2 separate regions of the Homo sapiens genome follow, and region 2 is linked to region 1. The links are contacts of gene promoters, found by promoter capture Hi-C in blood cells and fetal thymus (Javierre and others, 2016). All regions are on one chromosome and are shown on one strand. Each heading gives the region's core, a stretch centred on a gene start or on the middle of the fragment in contact. The rest is flanking DNA. Distances are from core to core; before and after follow the strand shown. Region 1 holds the start of ITGA6-AS1 (ITGA6 and PDK1 antisense RNA 1). Region 2 overlaps LOC107985960 (a long non-coding RNA gene).

Region 1 (7,004 bases), core at 60-2,559:
TCATCTCAAGGAAACAGAGATGTGGTTTTTGGAATCTTTCAAACATTTGAAACATAAAGTACTTAGCTCTATATAGTTGCCTATTTTGTCCAACAATACCCTTTGCCCTCTCTTGATACCTAGGGTCCTGAATGCAGAAGGTAAGTGAAACTGTAAGACTAAGGGAGCCCTCCAAAATACATCTCTTAAGGCAACAATGTAAAATCTAGTATTCCAAACTGCAGCTACCATCCAAACTAACAAAAAAAATGGGTACTTCTCTATATACTCCCCAATTTTTTTATTTAACAGCATTAAATGTTCTCTTCTTTACTGGAGATGGAAGAAAAAGACTCAGATTTACTTTAGGATCTTGTAGCTGACAATGTATCAATGCCAAACAGGAGAGTTACTGTTAGTCAGAGAGACGGGGACCACAAACACCACCAGGTGCTCATTTCAGTATCAATTTAAACCCACTGTGTGACCTATATCCAAATTTTGCACTCCTCCATAAGTAGCAATACAGACACAGGTTTTAATCTTGAATCATTACAAAAACATTAAACAACTTTAGACAGAAGGAAAAATGCCAAAATGTTAAAAAATAAGTCTAGATACTGAGATTGCCAGTGGGTTTTTTTATTCTTCATAGGTCTGTGTATTTTACCAGCTTCTTAAAATTAACACATATTAGTTTCTAATAAAAGAACACATGTTATTTCTTTTCTTGAGATGGTATCTTGCTCTGTCACCCAGGCTGGAGTGTAGTGGCACGATTTTGGCTCACTGCAGCCTCTGCCTCCCAGGTTCAAACAATTCTCACGCCTCAGCCTCCTAAGTAGCTAGGACTACAGGCGTACACCACCACGCCTGGCTAATTTTTGTATTTTTAGTAGAGATGGGGTTTCACCATGTTGGCCAGGCTGGTCTTGAACTCCTGACCTCAAATGATCCACCCAACTCGGCCTCCCAAAATGCTAGGATTACAGGTGTGAGCCACCGACGCCTGGCCAACAAATGTTATTTCTAAAAGATGAAGAAGCAAGAGAAGAACATAGACACGAATCTGCAAATCTACTTAGACCGAACATATCAAACGAGGTTTGGCTAGAGCTTCTCAGTACACTAATTGCTCTGCTCAACCTACAAGAAGCCAGGTACACTGGATGTCAACATGCCTACCTCATGGTATCTTCTACCTATCCAGAGCCCTTAACAAAACAAGTCTCTATCTGAGACAGGAGGGAAAACTTTATCTCTGTTAGCCAGCTCTCATTCCAAAGGGGTCTGATATTTAAAACTGTCTTTCTCCCAAATATTTTAACAGCATGTGAGAACTTTTGGCTGATGAATACAAGATACGCTCATTCATTCTCTTCATTGCTATGAAATGAGTTTTTCCACAACCTCCTGCAGAACCTCAACACATCACTAGGTGGCAACATCCCTACACCATATCGGTTTAGAAACCACGGTTAGGAGGAGCAGCAAAACACGCGGCATCCCAGTATGATTCAGAAGTAAAGTAAGTAAATATTTTCAGGGCAAATAAAAAACAGTCAAGTCTGATGCAATTAAAAGAAGTCCTCTCTACAAGAATAAATGTTTGTCCCCACTCTCCTCCCTCATGGAAACAGTACAGGCAAGCTGCCGGAGTGAACGCTGAGTGAGGGAAAGGAACGCACCATCGTTATCAAACTCGATCCGCGTGCATGGCCCCCGGGCGGTGATGTCGCAGCTGTACAGCCCTCCCGTTCTGTTGGCTCTCTGCAGTGGAAGCGCTTCTGCCCGCGGGGCCCCCACGAGCAACCTGTTGATGAAACAGAGACAATTTGGAGATTTGAATTTAATATACGTTTAACAGTTAAATCAGTCAGAACTAGGAGATAGTGGGATTATTCTTTGTCTAGGAGTCCACTAATTCTTCAACAGCTTAGGCAGTGAGTGAGAACAAATGTAGAGTCCTATGGCTGGTTCATGCAAAACGCACAAACACAACTAAACAGGGGAAGCCAAAGAGGGGATACCAAAACGAGGAAAATAGGCCTGTCTCTCATAGTATCAGCATTTCTTGCTGGGTATGATCTGGTGTTTAAAAGACACCCTCTTCAAAGAATACAACCTCTAAGCCCCTATGATGCCAGGGATATCATATGAAACTCAAGAGAAGAAACCAAATACTTGTGACAATGGAAGGAAAAAATGGCCACACTAAATGTAATAAGCAATAATATGTCAGTTTCTAACACTGTGCCTTCCTGAGGTAGTTTTCAAGGGTAATTCTGACTATATCTTAGATTTTCAGTTTATATACTAATTGAGAGAACCTAATGGTAAGTAAGATACAACTCGACTGAATTATTCACTTGCAGCCTTGGCCTCTTTCCAATTCTTTTTTTTTTTTCCCTCCAGTTTTATTAGGGTAGAATGGACAAATAAAAAGCAGATATATTTGAGGTGTACAAGTTGATGTTTGTTCTTCCAAGTCAGTTCTTACTTCCTTGCACTTTTGTCACATTACAAGAGTTCGTCCTCTCTCATCCTATCAGTCTCCCACAAAGGATTCAGGGACAACTGGTGTAGCTCCACTTATGTACTAGGCACTGTAATATTCCTTCTTCTCCCCAGCCGAGTGTTTTTATCTCCTATAAGGAGGCCCCCAGTCCAAATCCACAGTCCTTAAAATTTCACCATCTCACAGCTTGACAGGCTCTTTAGAGATCCAATGACCTTGTTGCTAGGTCTCTTTTGCTAACACCTTTACTCACCATCAGGTTTACAATCTTTGAGGCCTGGCTGACTCATGGAACAACTAGGACAAGAAACAAAGACAAAGAACACACACCTGACTGGACAGAGATAAACCAAGAGCTGAGAGTTTTGGAAACAAGGCTGGAGCTGAGGAAAAGGACTGGGAACACGAACCTGTACAAACAACAAATTCTTACAACAGAAAACAAGCCACTCCTGGCCATCAAGAAACCCACAAATCTCAGAAGCAAAAGCAAAACAAATGAAAATACAAACCAAATAGTCTCTATTACCTTCATGCCTGTTGGGTCCCAATAAAGGAATCATTCCAATAAAGGATTCAACATATTTTTTTTAAACCAATATCATGCAGCAGGTGCCACCGGAGGCAAGTGTACCTGGAAAGCAGGGAGGGGGGCCAGATGATGCCCAGACAGAGAAGGAGGGGTGGCTCATGGATAACACATAGCCCCAGCACTGTCCTTCCTCCCAGATCCCTGGACAGTCACAGTCAGCCCCCACCTCCAAACCCACCCTACATTTGAAGGAACAAAACAGCACACACCAAGGTACAGAACTGACACACAGACTTTTAAATTAGGAACTGGAGCAGTGTCCTTGGTGCCTGAACCTTCTTGACAGAGGACAGAGGCAAGGCCGGGGCCACAAGGGTCCCCACAGGTCTGCTCCACTCCTATTCCAGTGATGTCCCCGATCCCAGGAATGCCAACAAACAAGTACCTGGGAGGTGAACTGCCTAGACTATAAGGTGAATGTGTTAAATTACTGTACTTGGCAGATGTCAGAGGTGGAGTCATGTGGAGGGTGCTGGAAGGGATAAGTGGGGTGCCAGGATCAGAGGCCCAGAACCCCAGGACTTTCACACTGGAAGCCCCTGAGAGAGACCAGTCCTCCAGTTTTACAGATAAAGAAACAGAGGCCTTGAGGAGCTTAATTACTCATCCCCCAAGATCTCACAGCTAGTGGGTGGCCATGACAAAAATTATCTTGGTGCAATGTTGTCTCCATTTCTTTACAAAGCTGCTTAGGAAGTAAAACCCAGGATTTCAAGTTTACAACCTAGTTGAAAGGGCAAAACTTACACAAATAAAACATCACAACCAAAACTGTTCTGTATGCTGATAAAAGTTAAGATAATAGAGCCAAGTAGAGGGGAAGGAAGAAAAGCATTATTGCAGTTGGGTGGAGTGAAGGCTGGGTAAGAGATTTCCTGTAAAGGTAACCACCAGCAAAGAGAAGCCTAGAAAAAGCAGCACAGGAGTCCCATTGTCTTAACTGTGTGTCTTCCTAACCACTTCCTCTTCTCACCCACACCCAAGGTGGCTACTAAGTTACCTAAGGCAGGCACAGGGCTTATTTCCTGTTTATCCCATTCCCACATTCGTTCACCTATTCACTCAACAAACGCTGATTAAGAGCCTCCTAGGATGAATAAGGAATTGCCCCCACTCCTCAATCTCTGGCCTGGGGAAGCCTGATCCGTGAACAGGTCATGAGGTCATGAAACCACAGGGAGCTAGAGGCAATGAGAGGATGGTACAGAGTGCTGTGGGCACCAGCACCTGCTGGAGAGGAAGGGAGGATGTCACTAAGAGATGACAGCGGGACTGGAGGTGGCCAGGTAAGGAACACAGCATATGCAAAGGCTGCAAGGGAAGGAGCCAGAGAAAAGGGAGAAGAGGGACACAATGGGTGACAAGAAGGGGTCGAGGATCAGCAGCCTGGTCAGCAGCGCTAAAGGACGAAGGGTCAGAGACCCTCTGAACCCCAGGCTTCTGTAGCCTGCTGTGTCCTGCAGGGTACAGCTGCTTTTGGGTGTCCTGTGGTTTAAAAAGCTGTGGAGGTTGTCCCATTTACATGCCCAGTCCCTCAGAGTGGGTTGGCTTCCCTCAGCCTCTATCTGCCACTTGTTCTCCACTCTCTGTAACTAATACGTGTGGGACAAAGAATAGGCATTTAACTCGAATTTGTTGGCTGGTTACAGGGGCTGTGGTGACAAAATTTCACAAATGCCCACACCAAGCTCTTGCAGAAGAGGTCCTCGTGTCTTACATGCGGCGGCTACTGCAGATGACAGCAGACCACATGGCAGGATGGGGGCAGCAGGCTGGTTTGGGGAAAAAGGACAACAGATTCGAAAAGAGACCTGCAAACGACAAGAGAAATGTACCCACAGAGAATAACGTTAGCTGTTGCACCGCCTCTGGGCGAGCTCAGCCTGCACATGGTCCTGGCACTGTCCTTCCTCCACCTCAGGTGGTCCCACAGGGGATGGAGGAAGCAGGAGTGTTCCACCGCCCCTTGCAAATCCCCTGGGCAGCCGTGGGAGGAAGAGCTGACACCCAGCAGCAGAGGGCGCCCCTGCTCCAGTTGCGCCCGGTCTCCTGGGACCCACCGCGATAAGGTGGCAGAACCCATCACCGAAAGGTAAGGTAAAGCTACACCTTGATGAGAGAACACAGTAACCCCAACCACATTCAGCAACTGGAGGCGCCTTCATCCTCAAGGTAAAGCTGCCCTCCCTGGTTTGGGAAACAAGCAAAGGCTCTTAATTCGCCTGGAACCAGCCTTAAAGGCAGGAGATCACAGCCCATTAGCTGAGGCTGTGCCTAGCAGGAACAATAAATAAGGTAAATAGAGCTGTGTCCAAACAATGACAGCAGAGAACAACCTATCTACTTCCTAATCTAGGTCATTTAGGGTCTGGGTGCTGGTCTAAGCTGTTCAGGACATGGTTGGCTCCTGAGCTAGCAGAGTGGGTACAGGTCCAGGAGGGACAGTCTACACCTAGGAGGACCCTCAGCCCACACAAAATCCAATTTATGCTCAAATTCCAGCTTTCTTCCCTTTCCCTCCAAGGCCCTTAAATGCCAAAAACTGGGCCCAGGCCACCCAGATGGTTCAGTGTGAAAAGCAGGTACTCTCTGGGCACTACCAGGATGCTCACAGCAACTCCTAGGACCAGGGCAGCTGCAGCACTCATTACTGACCATCCCAGTACGTTTGAAGGAGGAAAGAGCTATGTGACAACTCGACCTTCAGAGCCACAGGGACCAAGGGATATGAGTTAGGGCCTTTGTAGGGAGGTGATAGAAATTAACAGAGCAGAGCCTGAGAGGTCTATTCCCATATGCGGTCAAGGCAAGAAAAACTAAACAAAGGGCAAGAATCTGGGTGTGAACTAAGATCATTTCAAAACCGGCCAGTGGACAATGACCTCCACTGAATTTTAAAGCTGCACCGAAATAAAAACTGCCTTGGGATTTCAGCATATCAGAAACCCACACTTAAAAGGCAAAACTCAAAACCACAAAATCATCTTTAACGATAAGAAATAAACACTGAGATACTAAAATGGAATGTAAAAATCTAACGATATAAGTATAACAGTAACTGGGAATATGATATAAATTCAGGTCTTTGGAGTCTAATCAGAGCTCTGGGCACAGAGACTCAGGACTCACTATCATGCTATGAACACAAGGTTATTTCAAAATTCTTCAAGTAAGCCACATCCGTTTCATATATTCAAGTTCTCCCCCAAAGAGAGCTGGTATACTTTTGCATAAATACTTCAAATCAAAAGTTCTAAACACTGGGACACTTTTAAAACTCCAAGAACAATGGCAGCTTTGCTTCACTGTCTTTGGCAATAATTCATTTCCTCAAGGATTAAAGATTCTGCCCCTAGCTATGCAAGCTGGTCAGAGGAAACATGAAATATTGCACCATTAGAACAAGAACACTATTATTGCTTAATTTAAAACACAGCCTGCTTAGTTTGTCCAAATTAAGACCTAAAAAGTTAGAAAGTAGCATTATGTGGCAATTGTGTCACCTTTACATTTAACCCATTTTCAAACTCAGAATTTAATTTTTGCTAAAGTAATAAGTACAAATGATAGGAAATCAAAAAATAAAAGACTTAACGGTAGAAAGCAACAGATTCCAAACTCATCCCAAGCCCCACACTCCGGACAAACCTCTTACTTTTCATTCTGGATTTACTTCTCCATAATTCTGGATTATTATATATGTATTGATTTATCAGCTTTAGGCAATAACTGTTGGCCCCATAATATGAAAAGGAAAGAACAAACTGCCACCTCCCATCCTATGTTTAATAACTAGATTTAGTTCCTCTATTTGCTACTCTGAGTTTTAAAGATTTAAACCTCTATTTTCCCTTCAACTTTTGACAGAAATCTTGATTCCCTAGTTAGTGAGACAAAGCTATGAGCATTTGGATT
Region 2 (7,050 bases), core at 1,507-4,006, 180 kb after region 1:
AGACTTTGCCCAGTCTGTGTAGTCAGCATGCAGATGAGAGTGGGACGCTTGCTGCAGAAACACCTTCAGCTCAGCAGCTGCCTATAAGGGAAGAAAACTCAGGATGTATAAAAACAGAGAAGTGACATTCTCCCTGCAAAATCAGCATTCTAAAATGATGATCCTGTCTCATCCCAGTCCTGTTTTGGCCAGACTCCCCTGTCCATTAAAAGTGTCCATTTCCAGCTGCTCTAAAATAAAGGGGTTGTGATTTATTTTGCTGGGCACCGTGTCAGCACAGCCCAGTGCATGATTTAAAATCCTGGTTTTCCTCTTTGCACAAAAGAGTTTGGACAAAACAAAGCTGGGATGAGCAAGGTCATGGACTTCTCTACCCTACTGGCCAACATATAGGCGATAAAGGCAAAATAGAGACTGGCTGTCCAAAGCTTTGTGGACCGTGGGAAGTGATGTTGCCAAGGTGATGATTTGGAACCAGACCGGAGAAGCTGGTGCTAACAAGGACAGGAGACCCAAGGAACATTTCCTGAAAGGGAAGAGAGAAACTCAAAGGGAATTCACCAGCAGTTGGTAGGATTTCCATGTTTTGTCTCAAATATGTATTTCTAGCCTTCCTTATGTTGGAAAATTGTGTTCAGAACTCCGAACTCTGAACACAGTAGATTTATCACATCCTGACTGTCAGAGATAATTTAAAATCAGATGAGAGGGAAGGAAGGAAAATTGAGAGTCATGATTGTCATCCAATCCAAGCTCGGTAAAAACCATTTGATAATGGTCTATTTATAGAGACATGTAGGATGGTCATTAGGAACAGAGCCCAGGGATCAGGCCCCAGCTCTGATGGATTTTGTGAGAGACACTCACCAGTTTAGGAAAATCATTTAATCTATTGGTACTTCAAATTGGATCACCAATAAGAATGAGTAAGACCTGTATACATGTACCCTAAAACTTAAAGTATACATGAAAAAAAAGGTTCTAAAGCAAAAAAATAAAAATAAAGGTTGGATGCTAAATTAAACAAAAAAAAAGAATGAGTAAGACCTATGGAATTTTATATCAGAGGGAAAAAACAGGAAGAGTCCATACATTTAGTTTGAAATAGTCATTATTTCCTTTTGATTTAAAAATTAAACCACATTGTCAAGGAACAATAAATCAGCCTATTTATTTATTTATTTATGCCTAATTCATGTTGCCTACTGAGGATCAGTAGGTGTTCTGATTTCTGAGCTAATACTCTATCTGAATGAAAATTTGGGTTTTGCTCATGGAAAGCCAACTCCTGGCAGGCCTATACTTAACTCAGAACTCACCTCTGTGCCCCTCAAGTCATTTGCTTACTTCCCTTGTTATAGAAACAATGGAAGTTATTTCTTAGCAAGCGAGAAAAGTTCTGGAATATAAATTGTAGACTGTGGTTGCTATTAAGCCATGAACAGTTCGTCCTTTAGAAGGTAGAGGAAGGACATGGAGGAGAGGGAGAGCCAAGAGATCAGCCAAGAAGCACGGTCACTGCTCCAGTGTAAAATTGGGATCTAAAGAGTTTGAGAGTTCATTAGAATCACAGCATAGAATCTTTTGAGCTATATGCACACCTATGGTTTATACCACCAAAATGCCAAAAATCTTCTGCATAGTGCAAGCTGACTGAGTAAATGATTTAATGTGATTCTCACTCCACCTTGGGAAGTCAACAGATAAGGTACTGACAGTTATGTCCATTTCATGGGAGAGGAACAGATGCTCATACAGAACAGATAGTATCCAGGGGAGCTTTATTTCCAGGGAATGATTCTGCCTGTAAGGTTTTCCGGCCACTAAATAGTGGAGCCAGTACCTAATTCAGGCCCTCTGATTGTTAGCCTTGTTCCTTCAAACTGCAGGACATCACAACCACCACGCCCACCTTCCAAAATGAAAGTCTCTTTTCAAACATAAAAGCCACAATATGAGCTATGGCAGCCATTGAGAGGTACATCCTTTCCTCTGTGAAATTTCACTCAGGAACAGCCCTATAACATCACAAAATTTAGGAATGAAAATAATCTCTAGTCTAATATACTTGTTTTATGAACAGATAAGGAAACTGAGGCACAGAGGGGCTAAGTAACTTGTCTCAAAATCACACAGCTGCATTACTTGTTGCGTTGGTTAACTGAAATGTTAAGATCAGTTCAGTCATTCCACAGTTTACAAGAAATAATTAGAAGGCATCCCATTTACAGAATATAAACCTGATCAGCCGGGTGCGGTCGCTCACGCCTGTAATTCCAGCACTTTGGGAGGCTGAGGCGGGCAGATCACTTGAGGTTGGGATTTCCAGACCAGCCTGGCCAACATGGTCAAACCCCGTCTCTACTGAAATACAAAAATTAACCAGCCGTTGTGTTGGAGGGGCAGCTGAGGCATAAGAATCGCTTGAACCTGGGAGGAGGAGGTTGCAGTGAACCAAGATCATGCCACTGCGCTCCAGCCTGGGTGAAGAGTGAGACGAGAGAGAGAGAGACAGAGCGAGAGCGAGAGAATGAGAGAGAGAGAGCAAGGAAGGAAGGAAGGAAACTAAACCAAACAGTAGTTCAAAAAAAAGTTAAGTGATTTGCGGAGATCAAAAGGAAGGAAGGAAAGAAACAATAGTGCAAAACAAGTAATTTGCAGAGATCACAGAAGTGGAGGGACAGCAGGATTTGAAACCAGGCTGATCTGACTCCAAACTACCCGACCTCACCCACACCAACAGCATGTTGTGCCAGCAGCCTTTTGTGCCCCTGTGGAAGAGCAGGATAGGGGCACTGCACAGGTTTCATTCACTGGAAGGGAGAACTTCTTGCCCACAAATAAGCACCTTGGACTCAGCTAAATCCAGAGAACTCTTAGTCTCACCTAATCCAAAACTGCTAGATTTCAAATCCCAAAGGACTCATTTTGCCTCTCAGCAGGCCCAGCACAGACACGTAGCCCTGACAGTTTGCACTGAGGATTCCAGATTCCAGAATGGAGCCCAGCTGTGCAAAGCCACTGAAGCTGTGACTGGCAGCCGCACTCACTGACCTTCTCAAAGGCCTCTGTGCTCCCAGGCCTGGAAGAGCATTATTTTAGGGATAATGGCTGACAGCTGCTGCAGCCTCGTGGGTGCCCAGCCCCTGTCCACCACATCCTTAGGAATCTTGGTGGTTCCAGGCTTTCTGGCCCAGAGTAACCAGCTACTGGAATCCTGGAGTTACTTCATTAAACTGGTTTCAAGTTACATGCTTTCTTTTATAGGACTGGGGGGAAATGAAACCTGCCAGCCTATTGTCTGTGCTGTACATAACCACTTCTTTCTTGGTGAAATTTCTCCCAGCTCCTGTGTCCCCATCCTGAGTGCAGTAGGGAAGTAGCAAAAGAATTGGTTTTGCCAAATAAAGTTTAAAATGTTGGCCAAGACCAGTGTCGTGCCCCTGTTGCCTCAGCAACCAAGCTGAGGCAGGAGGATCGCTTGAGGCCAGGAGTTTGAAGCCAGTCTAGACAATAGAGCAGGACCCTGTCTCTACAAAATATTTATTAAAAAATTAGTGGCCATGGTGGTATGCACTGTAGTCCTAGCTACTCAGGAGGCTGGTGTAGGAGAATCACTTGAGCCCAGGAGTTCAAGGCTACAGTGAGCTATGATTGCACCGCTGCACTCCAGCCTGGGGAACAAAGTGAGACCCCATCCCATAAATAAAACAGTCTCTACTTTCTGAGTATTTTGTTCCCCACTGCACTCTTGCAGGCTGAGTGTTTCATCGAGTTCCACAGTGCCTTTGCATATCTTATGCATATCTAGAGGACAAGACACCATAAGAGAGTGCCTCCTGTTTTCAGTTTTTGTCATTATCATTAGCCTTCCAATGGTCAACTGCCAAATAGGCCACTTTGAAGTAGGTTTGCCCTCTTTCTCTCCTTTTTTAAACTCAGATGTGCATAGGTAGAATGGCTGAAATGACTCTTTAGAAGAATGTGTTCTTTCCATGCTAAATGCCTCAGATCTCAGCTAATCTTGCAGAGCTGGACAGGATCTTTGAACAGGTTAATGTAGTGGTTGGGAAAATCTCCCCCTGGGGAAATTCCTCAGTCCTCTGACAGCCAGCATCTGCGCAGGCGAGGGCACATACCCCTTTGGGGCAGTCTTGGAGTGTTCTCCTCCCTTGGTGGATTCACAGAGTGCAAGGGGTACCACAGAAGGAGCTGAAGGCTCCTGTCACTCTCCCATAAAACCCCTCCACCGATGCAGCATGGGGCATGACATCATTAGGGGAGAAGATGGGAACGGGATGATTTGGATTCAGGCAACTGGGGTCAAATCCCACCTCCACTGCTCACTCGGTAGGCAACATTAGTATATCCCTGAACCTCTCTGTGCCTCAGTTTACACATCTGTAAAACAGGAATAATAATACCTGCTGCACAATATGGCTATGGTTTTGTAAATGATACAGCACTATTATCCATAATAGTAGTAACCTTAAGGAGATGCTGAAGACTCTTTTCAGATTTGTCCCAGTGCTTACATCTACTACATTTAAGGGGAGTAGGTTTGAAGATAAATTTCATTATCCTTGTCATCACTGATACCTTCATGAGTCAAGCACCAGAAGTAGACTCGGCACCAGATGAAACATGGTCATCAAAATTATCCCTGAAAGGCCAGTTGGTCAAGATATTTCAGACATCAAAAATATGCCCCCCGGCCCCACCCCCGAGGCCTCAGCTGCATCACATTCCTTCACTTGGACCCGCCTGCAGACCACACAGTATCTCAGGGCAATTTCACACTCTCTCTACCGACTGCCTCTTGCTATCTGGATTGCACACTCAGGCAGCCTGATTCCTGTCTGGTCAACCACATAGAAACCAAGGGAATGAGAGCTAATGTAATTGGTTGAAGTCATTTCCAGAAATATGCTATTGGGGACATATCGAGAAGGTATCTGGGTTCTAAACAGGAAATCATAATAATCAGACTAATGCAGCATCCAAATTACTTCAGGGAAAACAATTGTTACAAAATCAAACTACAGACATACCAAGCTCCTCATCAGAAATAGAAAGAAGCTTCCTTTTTCATTACACCTCTTTTTTCCAGCAAATTTCTTGCTCATTCTAGAATGAATCTTGACTATTCACAATCCCTATCATTGTTCCTGAAATAACACCCTCATTAATTATGCCTACTCTGAAATACAGTTTAACCTGTTTTATAGTTAACAGCAGCCTTAACATACAGTCCCAAGTGAACCGTGTAGAGAGCCTCAGAATTACAAACGTAAAGTGACGGCAAAGGAAGAAAATATATATGCCTTCTAACTGACTCAGAAATGGGCTTCCCACACCCCCTGCAGTCATGTGCCACACAGTGACATCAGGCAACAACAGACTGCATGTATGATGGTGATGCCATAGGATTAGAATAGAGCTGGAAAATTCCTATCCCCTGATGACATATTGATGATCCTGACCCCGATGATTAAGCCCGGGCTAATGTGTGTGTAGTTGTCTTAGTTTTTAACAAAAAAGTTTAAAAGTAAAAATAATAATAATAAAATTTAATGAAAAAAATGTATAGAATAAGGATATAAAGAAAATATTTTTGCATAGCTGTATAATGCCTTTGTGTTTAAAGCTAAGTGTTATTCCAAAAGAAGTTAAAAACATTAAAAAGCTTATAAAGTGAAAAAGTTACAGTAAGCTAAGGTTAATTTATTATTGAAGAAAGAAGAGTTTTAAAATAAATTTAAGCCAGGCACAGTGGCTCACGCCTCTAATCCCAGCACTTTGGGAGGCCAAGGCAGGCGGATCACTTGAGGTCAAGAGTTTGAGACCAGCCTGGCCAACATGGTGAAAGCTCATTTCTACTAAAAATACAAAAATTAGCCAGGCATGGTGGTGGGCAACTGTAAGCCCAGCTACTAGGGAGGCTGAGGCAGGAGAATCACTTGAACCCAGGAGGCAGAGGTTGCAGTGAGCGAAGATCATGCCACTGCACTCCAGCCTGAATGACAGAGTGAGACTGTCTCAAAAAAAGTAAAATGAATTTAGTGTAGCCTGAGTGTGCTGTGTTTATAAAGTCTACAGTAATGTACAGTAATGTCCCAGGCCCTCACAATCACTCACCACTTACTCACTGACTCACCCAGAGCAACTTCCAGTCCTGTAAGCTCCACTTATGGTAAGTGTCCTTACAAGTATATCATTTTTTATCTTTTATACCATAACCTTCTCTATGTTTAGATACACAAATACTGATCATTGTGTTACAACTGCCTATGGTATATTCAGTACAGTAACATGCTGTACAGTTTTATAGCCTAGGAGCAATAGGCTATACCACACAGCCCAGGTGTATAGTAGGCAGTACCATCTAGAGCTATGCAAGTACACTCTATGATGTTTGCACAAAGAAATCGCCTGACAATGCACTTCATAGAACATATCTACATTGTTAAGTGACACACAGTTGCATTTCAGCACTCCATGCCCTACTTCTTTATATATATATTAATAGCTTCGAGGGAATGGGTAGTCATTTAGCATTAATAAGCAATGAAAAGTGGAATCTTTTTCTTGTTTCAGAAAGTGACAGTAAGCAGTCTAGAAAATGTGGACAAGATGGAGGAAAGGAAAGAGTGAAGGGAAGAAGGGAGAGTAGAAAGGAAAACCAAGATAACTTTCCTCATGTCCTGAATCTGATGAGCTCAGACTGTCTGGCACATGCCCTTCAGGTAGGTGATAGGGCAGTGTTGGGCTGATTCTGGGAAAACTCTCCTCTACAGAACTCAGGTGTCTTTAATACAGTGTAGTCCATTTTGTTCTTTTTTCTTCTGTTTCTTAGCGATGGGTTTGCCTTTTTAGGGGTTGGCTGGAAACGAGTACATTATCATCGACCACTGACAAAGCAACAGGAGGACATCTTCTGTCCCTGGGCACACGCTGGTTACCCATCAATCACTTTTTATTGACCTTGAACTAAGATCCATAAATTCAAAAACTGCAATTTAAAAATTTTATAGGCAAACTAATGGAATA

What was found. The method cuts DNA at HindIII sites, captures the fragments that hold promoters and counts their contacts. A CHiCAGO score of 5 or more calls a contact.
Region 2: a contact is called between a fragment that was not itself captured here and the fragment with the promoter of ITGA6-AS1 in region 1, in 5 of 17 cell types (megakaryocytes, endothelial precursors, M2 macrophages and 2 more). The highest score is 11.6, in megakaryocytes.

Annotation. Positions count from the first base shown.
Region 1 is chr2:172,460,327-172,467,330 of GRCh38, reverse strand. ITGA6-AS1 (ITGA6 and PDK1 antisense RNA 1) reads left to right here and starts at 1,309. Exons shown (of 2, transcript NR_157573.1): 1 at 1,309-1,507; 2 at 2,757-3,069. ITGA6 (integrin subunit alpha 6) reads right to left here. Exons shown (of 26, transcript NM_000210.4): 2 at 1,668-1,792. It overlaps PDK1-AS1 (PDK1 and ITGA6 antisense RNA 1), which reads left to right. Exons shown (of 4, transcript NR_199657.1): 4 at 2,757-3,065. RefSeq lists an enhancer at 899-1,068. The HindIII fragment of the contact is 13,641 bases long and covers 1-7,004 here.
Region 2 is chr2:172,281,455-172,288,504 of GRCh38, reverse strand. The region is part of intron 2 of LOC107985960 (a long non-coding RNA gene); the gene reads right to left. Among named protein-coding and RNA genes, the nearest start is that of ITGA6, 140 kb to the left of the region's middle. The HindIII fragment of the contact is 4,651 bases long and covers 431-5,081 here.